Regions from separate parts of the Homo sapiens genome. Here region 2 is linked to region 1. Evidence: promoter capture Hi-C in 16 types of primary human blood cells and fetal thymus (Javierre and others, 2016). All regions are on one chromosome and are shown on one strand. Each heading gives the region's core, a stretch centred on a gene start or on the middle of the fragment in contact. The rest is flanking DNA. Distances are from core to core; before and after follow the strand shown. Region 1 holds the start of C16orf54 (chromosome 16 open reading frame 54). Region 2 holds the start of MAZ (MYC associated zinc finger protein).

The links. Contacts are between HindIII fragments. The CHiCAGO score rates a contact against its expected background, and 5 or more counts as called.
Region 2: a contact is called between the fragment with the promoter of MAZ here and the fragment with the promoter of C16orf54 in region 1, in 4 of 17 cell types (naive CD4 T cells, M0 macrophages, M2 macrophages and 1 more). The highest score is 6.1, in naive CD4 T cells.

Annotation. Positions count from the first base shown.
Region 1 is chr16:29,744,315-29,747,334 of GRCh38, forward strand. C16orf54 (chromosome 16 open reading frame 54) reads right to left here and starts at 1,676. Exons shown (of 2, transcript NM_175900.4): 1 at 1,597-1,676; 2 at 1-637. The coding sequence starts at 637. LOC124903673 (a long non-coding RNA gene) reads left to right here and starts at 933. Exons shown (of 2, transcript XR_007065046.1): 1 at 933-1,071. RefSeq lists enhancers at 1,966-2,015, 2,543-2,612. The HindIII fragment of the contact is 10,190 bases long and covers 1-3,020 here.
Region 2 is chr16:29,805,189-29,808,235 of GRCh38, forward strand. MAZ (MYC associated zinc finger protein) reads left to right here and starts at 1,341. Exons shown (of 5, transcript NM_002383.4): 1 at 1,341-1,705; 2 at 1,790-2,640; 3 at 3,042-3,047. The coding sequence starts at 1,514. It overlaps KIF22 (kinesin family member 22), which reads left to right. Exons shown (of 14, transcript NM_007317.3): 14 at 75-196. The coding sequence ends at 122. RefSeq lists enhancers at 272-321, 2,892-3,047 and silencers at 632-971, 1,102-1,241, 2,142-2,811. The HindIII fragment of the contact is 3,714 bases long and covers 1-2,846 here.

The sequences.
Region 1 (3,020 bases), core at 426-2,925:
AAGCTGAGATCTGCTCCAAGGTGACCCGTGGCTGGAGGCCCCACTCAGGATCCGGGCTCCCTGGCCGCTGCCTCCTGGCCTGGGGGCTCCCAAACTGGACGCTGGCCTCTGGCCTCTGCTCGGGTTCAGCCCAGCTCACCAGGCCTGTGGCGGGGGGCCTCCCCTCCCAGGGCTGGGGCCCCCAGAAGGTGCTCCGGGCTGGGACCTCCAGTACGGTCTGGGGGCCCAAGTTGCTGGGAGCAGAATTTGGGGCTGAGGGGGCAGGTGGGGCTGTTGCTCGGGCCTCCAAAGTGCCCACCTGGGTGGGAGGCTCAGGGGCCCGATCTGTCAGCAGGGGGACCGCAGAGCCATACCAGTCCTCAGAGCGCTCTCGGGCGGTGCCCATGGGCTCAATCCACAGCTCTCCTCCTGGGCGCCACACCAGGGTGGGTGCACGGTGGCTGGGGTCTGGGCGGAGAGCACGGCGGAACAGGCGTTCAGCCAACACAGCGGTGGTGAGGATGAAGAGCGCAGCCAGGGTGGCCAGGACCAGCATGATGGGGATGCAGGGCCCACAGGGCAGTGAGGGCCATGGGGCTGCTTCCCATGCGGGGGGCCCCTCCACGCGCCCAGAGGGCGGCTCTGGAGTCAACGGCATCTGAGAGACACAGGGGTGAGAAGAGGAAGTAAATGAGGCAGAGGGGGCACAACCAAGATGAGAGAGAGGCAGCAGGTGTCCAGGAAAGCCTGGGAGAAGGGCTGGGCATGGGGGCTCATGCCTGGAATCCCAGCACTTTGAGAGGTCGAGGCGGGAGGATCACTTGAGCCCAGGAGTTCAAGACCAGCCTGGACACACAGTGAAACCTCATCTCTAAAAATAATTTAAAAACTAGCTGGGTGTGGTGGCTCACACCTGTAGTCCCAGCTACACAGGAAGCTGAGGTGGGAGGATTACTTGAGCCCAGGAGTTTGAAGCTGCAGTGACCCCAGATTGCACCACTGTCCTCCAGCCTGGGCAATAGAGCAAGACCCTTTCTCAAAAATGAAAAAGAACATTCTGGAGAGACAGAGAAGCAAGAGGGACCAGAAAGGGTAAGCGTGAGCCAGGTGGGGTGGGAGGACAGGCAGCCTACCTCGGGGCACAGCCAGGCCCTCCTGCCTGGCTCTCCAGGCCTTTCCAGAATCCCCATTTCCCTCCCAGACCCCAGGGTGCCTCAGACAAGAAAGGTCTCAAGGGCTTCTTTCCTCCCCACTCGGCCCCCTCAAGTCTTGCTCAGACCTAGAGAGGAAGTGGTGGGTGAAGAAATGAGAACCTCCCCTCCCACTGGCTCCCCTGCGTGTGTCTCCCCCACCGCCTGCCGCCAGCACCTCCGCTGGCCCCTTGAGGCTCCTTCGCCCCTCACCATTCTCCTCGGACTTGATCTTGCTCTCATAGGCTCCACGGAATCTGCTGCCGGGCCGGGCCGGGCCAGGCCTCCGGAGGCGCCTCTGCACCCCTCCTGGGCTCCCCAGCTTTGCCCAGGCTCTGGCCTGTCTCTATCTCTCGTTTGTCTCTGCACACCTCTCTGTCCCCCACATCCTCCATCTGCAGGGGGCCTCCTGCACCCCTCAACTCACCTTGGGTCAGTCCCTGGGCTCCTCTCCCTCCTAGAGCCACTCTTCCTGGTGCTGGACTAAGAGGTGCAGGCTTGGAGGGTGCAGGGCGGTCCGCCTCTCAGACGTAGAGGCCCGGCCTCGGATGAAGGCGGAAGGGAGGGCACCGCCTGTTGCTGGGCAACTGTGCCCCAACTCGTCTGCCCCTGGGGAGTGTTTGTTTCCAAAGCAACCCAAGGGGATGTGGTCACTGCGGTGAGGAGGCTTTTCCTGGGGTAAGGTGGGGCTGGAATGGGCAATGGTTCTGTTGAACTTAGTGTCACCCCATAGCCAGGCCCTGAGCCCCAGAACATTCACCGAAAAGCTGAGAAAGAGGACGCCGGGGCCAGGCACAGTGGCTCACCCCTGTAATCCCAGCATTTTGGGAGGTCAAGGTGGGCAAGTCACCTGAGGTCAGGAGTTCGAGACCAGCCTGCCAACATGGCGAAACCCCATCTCTACTGAAAAATACAAAAATTAGCTGGGCATGGTGACGGGCACTTGTAATCTCAGCTGCTCAGGCGGCTGAGGCAGGGAGAATCGCTTGAACCCGGGACTCGGAGGTTGCAGTGAGCTGAGATCGTGCCACCACACTCCAGCCTGGGCAACAGAGTGAGACTCCGTCTTAAAAAAAAAGAAAAGAAAAGAAAAGAAAAAGAAATAGGACACTGGGACTTTAGCCCGTACATTCCCAGAGAACCATGGTGCCTCCCCCGTTCCTCCTGGGAGGATGCCCCACCCCATCCTGCCTTGTCTTATCCACGGTGCCTCCCCAGATCTGCTCCTGCCATGCAGCCCCCACAGGCACCCCCTGCTTGGCCAGCTTGCTTCACACCTTTTTTTTTTTTTTCTGGTAGAGATGGGCTCTTGCTATGTTGCCCAGGCTGGTCTCAAGCTCCTGGCCTCAAGAGATCCTCCTGCCTCAGCCTCCCAAAGTGCTGGGATTACAGGTGTGAGCTACCACACTGGCCCCTGCCTCATACTTTTAATTAACATAAGTCTCTCTCTCTTCAGACCATTTAGCCCCCATTTTGGTTGGAAAATATCAGTGAGGTGAGGCTTGGGTAACAAAAATGTCAAGCCTCTGAGAGGAGTCCAGGGTATAAAAACAGGCGTGGGCCTGTTTCCAAAACCCTGACCATCCTCATGTCTGTCCCTCTTTCCTGCTGCTGAGGGTGGGAGGAGCCTGGAGCAGAGTGTGACAAGATGTCATCAGGCTCTGGAGTCCAGGTGACTTTCTGAGATTCTCTAGTTTGACTCATCCACAGATGACAAAAGTAAGGCTTAAAGAAAAGAGATTTCATGACCAAAGTCGCATGACCAATGTATGTGTGGGTGAGCATGTAGTGGCCAGGGTGGTGGAAGAATAGATAGAAATCCCTGGGCTGGGCGAGGTGGCTCATGCCTGT
Region 2 (3,047 bases), core at 91-2,590, 61 kb after region 1:
CTGCCCCTCCTCTGCCTGTCCTGCGCCCCGCGCCCCTCTCTAACGTCGCTGTCTCCCTCCCTCCTGTGTTGCAGGCAAACATCCTGGGTCTCGCCGCCGGCCAGCGCTGTGGCGCCTCCTGACCGTCGTCTCCTCACTCCGCCTTTTCAAATTTTTGTATAACCCCGTGTTGTGTAAATACAGTTTTTGCTCCGGTGCTTCCGCCTGATTTTTGGGGCTGCGGGGGCGGGACCGGGGTGTGACCGCCTCGGGGTGGGCCGCGAGCAAGGCAGGCGACTCCACTGGGCGCCATCTTCGGGGAACGACTCAGCGCAGGATTGTAAATACACCGCTGGGGTGGGGCGGGGAGGACGGTGGCCTGCAGGACGCAAAAAGCGGAAGCCGAAGCATGAGGCCTGCGACCGTTAGGCGGGCGCGCGCTCAGGGATTAGCCCCGCCCCGTCCGTGCCCCCGGCGCGCGCGCTCCCCCATTCTCCCGCTCGGCAACGACGGCGGCCTTGTGCGCGTGCGCGCGAAATAACGGCCGCTGGCGGAGGGAGGGGGAGTGGAATCGTTGGCGGGGGGAAGAGGAGAGAAGCCGCCCTGTCTCCCGCGCGCCCACCACCTGCGCCATCGTCAGCCAATCAGCAGCCGTCTCAGGGGTCTCGCGCTCGGGGCGACTCGGGCTGCTGGGTGGCTCCCCCGTCCCTCCTCCCGCCAGAGTCCCTCTCGCGCCTGCCCCTCCCGCTGGCCACGCGCGCGCTCGCGCTAGCGCTCGCGCCCGCTCCAGCCTCTTGTGTGTCCTCGCGCCCCCCGCCCGCCCTCCCCGCGCGTAGTGTGCTCCGCTTCCCCCACCCTCCACCTCCCCCCTCCTGCCCGCCCCGCGCGCCTCCTCCCGGGTTCCCCCTCCCCCACCGCCGCCGCCTCCTCCTCCCGCCCCAGGGTGAGCGCGAGCCACCTCCCTCCCTCCCTCCGCCATGGATCCCAGCAACTGGAGCAGCTTCATCTTCCAGGTAACAACTCCCTCCCCCCGCCCCCACCCCCCTGCCCACACCCCCTCCTGCCCGCCCTCCCTCCCGTCCCACCCCCCCTCCGCGCGCCCGGTGCGCGCGCAGCTGTCCCCCTCCCTCCCTCGCGCCCTCCCCCGCCCTCCCCGAGGCGCCGGCTGGGCGCGCGCGCGGCGGGGGCCGAGGCTGCTCCCTCGCTCCCCCCACCCCGCCCCGCCAGGCTCCAACCGCCGCCGCCGCCGCCGCCGCCGCCCGGGCCCCCGCCCCCGGCCCCGGCCCCGCGGGGCCTCCCGCCCCCACCCAGGGGGCGTCGCCGCCGCCGTCGCCGCGGCGCTCCGCGGCCCGCAAGGCGCCCTCTTTTCCTCCCTCCCGCCGGCCGGGGTGCGCGGGCGGCGGGGCGGCCCGCGGGCCATGCGTTCGGCGCGGCCCAGCCCGGCCGGCCGGGGGCGGCGCCCCGAGCCCGGGCCCCGCGCGGCCCGCGCCCCCGGCCCCCGCTGAGCCCCGGGGGCCCCGCTGCGGCCGAGGCCATGTTCCCGGTGTTTCCTTGCACGCTGCTGGCCCCCCCCTTCCCCGTGCTGGGCCTGGACTCCCGGGGGGTGGGCGGCCTCATGAACTCCTTCCCGCCACCTCAGGGTCACGCCCAGAACCCCCTGCAGGTCGGGGCTGAGCTCCAGTCCCGCTTCTTTGCCTCCCAGGGCTGCGCCCAGAGTCCATTCCAGGTGAGTAGGGCCGGCCGCGGCGGCCCGGGCTGGGGGGGGACGCCCGCCCGCACCCGCGGCCCACTCGGCGCCTTGTCTCCGCAGGCCGCGCCGGCGCCCCCGCCCACGCCCCAGGCCCCGGCGGCCGAGCCCCTCCAGGTGGACTTGCTCCCGGTGCTCGCCGCCGCCCAGGAGTCCGCCGCGGCTGCTGCGGCCGCTGCCGCCGCTGCTGCCGCCGTCGCTGCCGCGCCCCCGGCCCCTGCCGCCGCCTCTACGGTGGACACAGCGGCCCTGAAGCAGCCTCCGGCGCCCCCTCCGCCACCCCCGCCAGTGTCGGCGCCCGCGGCCGAGGCCGCGCCCCCCGCCTCCGCCGCCACTATCGCCGCGGCGGCGGCCACCGCCGTCGTAGCCCCAACCTCGACGGTCGCCGTGGCCCCGGTCGCGTCTGCCTTGGAGAAGAAGACAAAGAGCAAGGGGCCCTACATCTGCGCTCTGTGCGCCAAGGAGTTCAAGAACGGCTACAATCTCCGGAGGCACGAAGCCATCCACACGGGAGCCAAGGCCGGCCGGGTCCCCTCGGGTGCTATGAAGATGCCGACCATGGTGCCCCTGAGCCTCCTGAGCGTGCCCCAGCTGAGCGGAGCCGGCGGGGGAGGGGGAGAGGCGGGTGCCGGCGGCGGCGCTGCCGCAGTGGCCGCCGGTGGCGTGGTGACCACGACCGCCTCGGGGAAGCGCATCCGGAAGAACCATGCCTGCGAGATGTGTGGCAAGGCCTTCCGCGACGTCTACCACCTGAACCGACACAAGCTGTCGCACTCGGACGAGAAGCCCTACCAGTGCCCGGTGTGCCAGCAGCGCTTCAAGCGCAAGGACCGCATGAGCTACCACGTGCGCTCACATGACGGCGCTGTGCACAAGCCCTACAACTGCTCCCACTGTGGCAAGAGCTTCTCCCGGTGTGCACGGGGCCTCGGCCGCCCGCTAGGCCGTGGGGAGGGAGGGACGCGACGGAGGTGGCCTGGCCGTGGCTGGCGGGGAGGGAGGCGGCTGCTGAGGCTGGGGAAGGGGAGCCACTCCCAGGGCGGAGGGAGGAAGCCTCTCCCGGTTACCAGGGAGCAAGGGGTGGTCCTTTGTCGAGGAGGTGGGCCTTGGGGTTGACGGAAGCTTCGCGTGGGAGGAGGCGGCGGCGGCGGCAGCGGCTGCTGGGCTCCAGGGGAGGGATTTCCTGCTTAAGTGTCGCTGTGACGGCCTGGGCTCCGGGAGGAGGCGCAGGGATCCTCGGAAAGGCCTGTGGTGCGGTTTGGTGGATTTGGGGCGCACCACCTCCGCCCTAACCCCAACCCCAACGTGTCCCCAGGCCGGA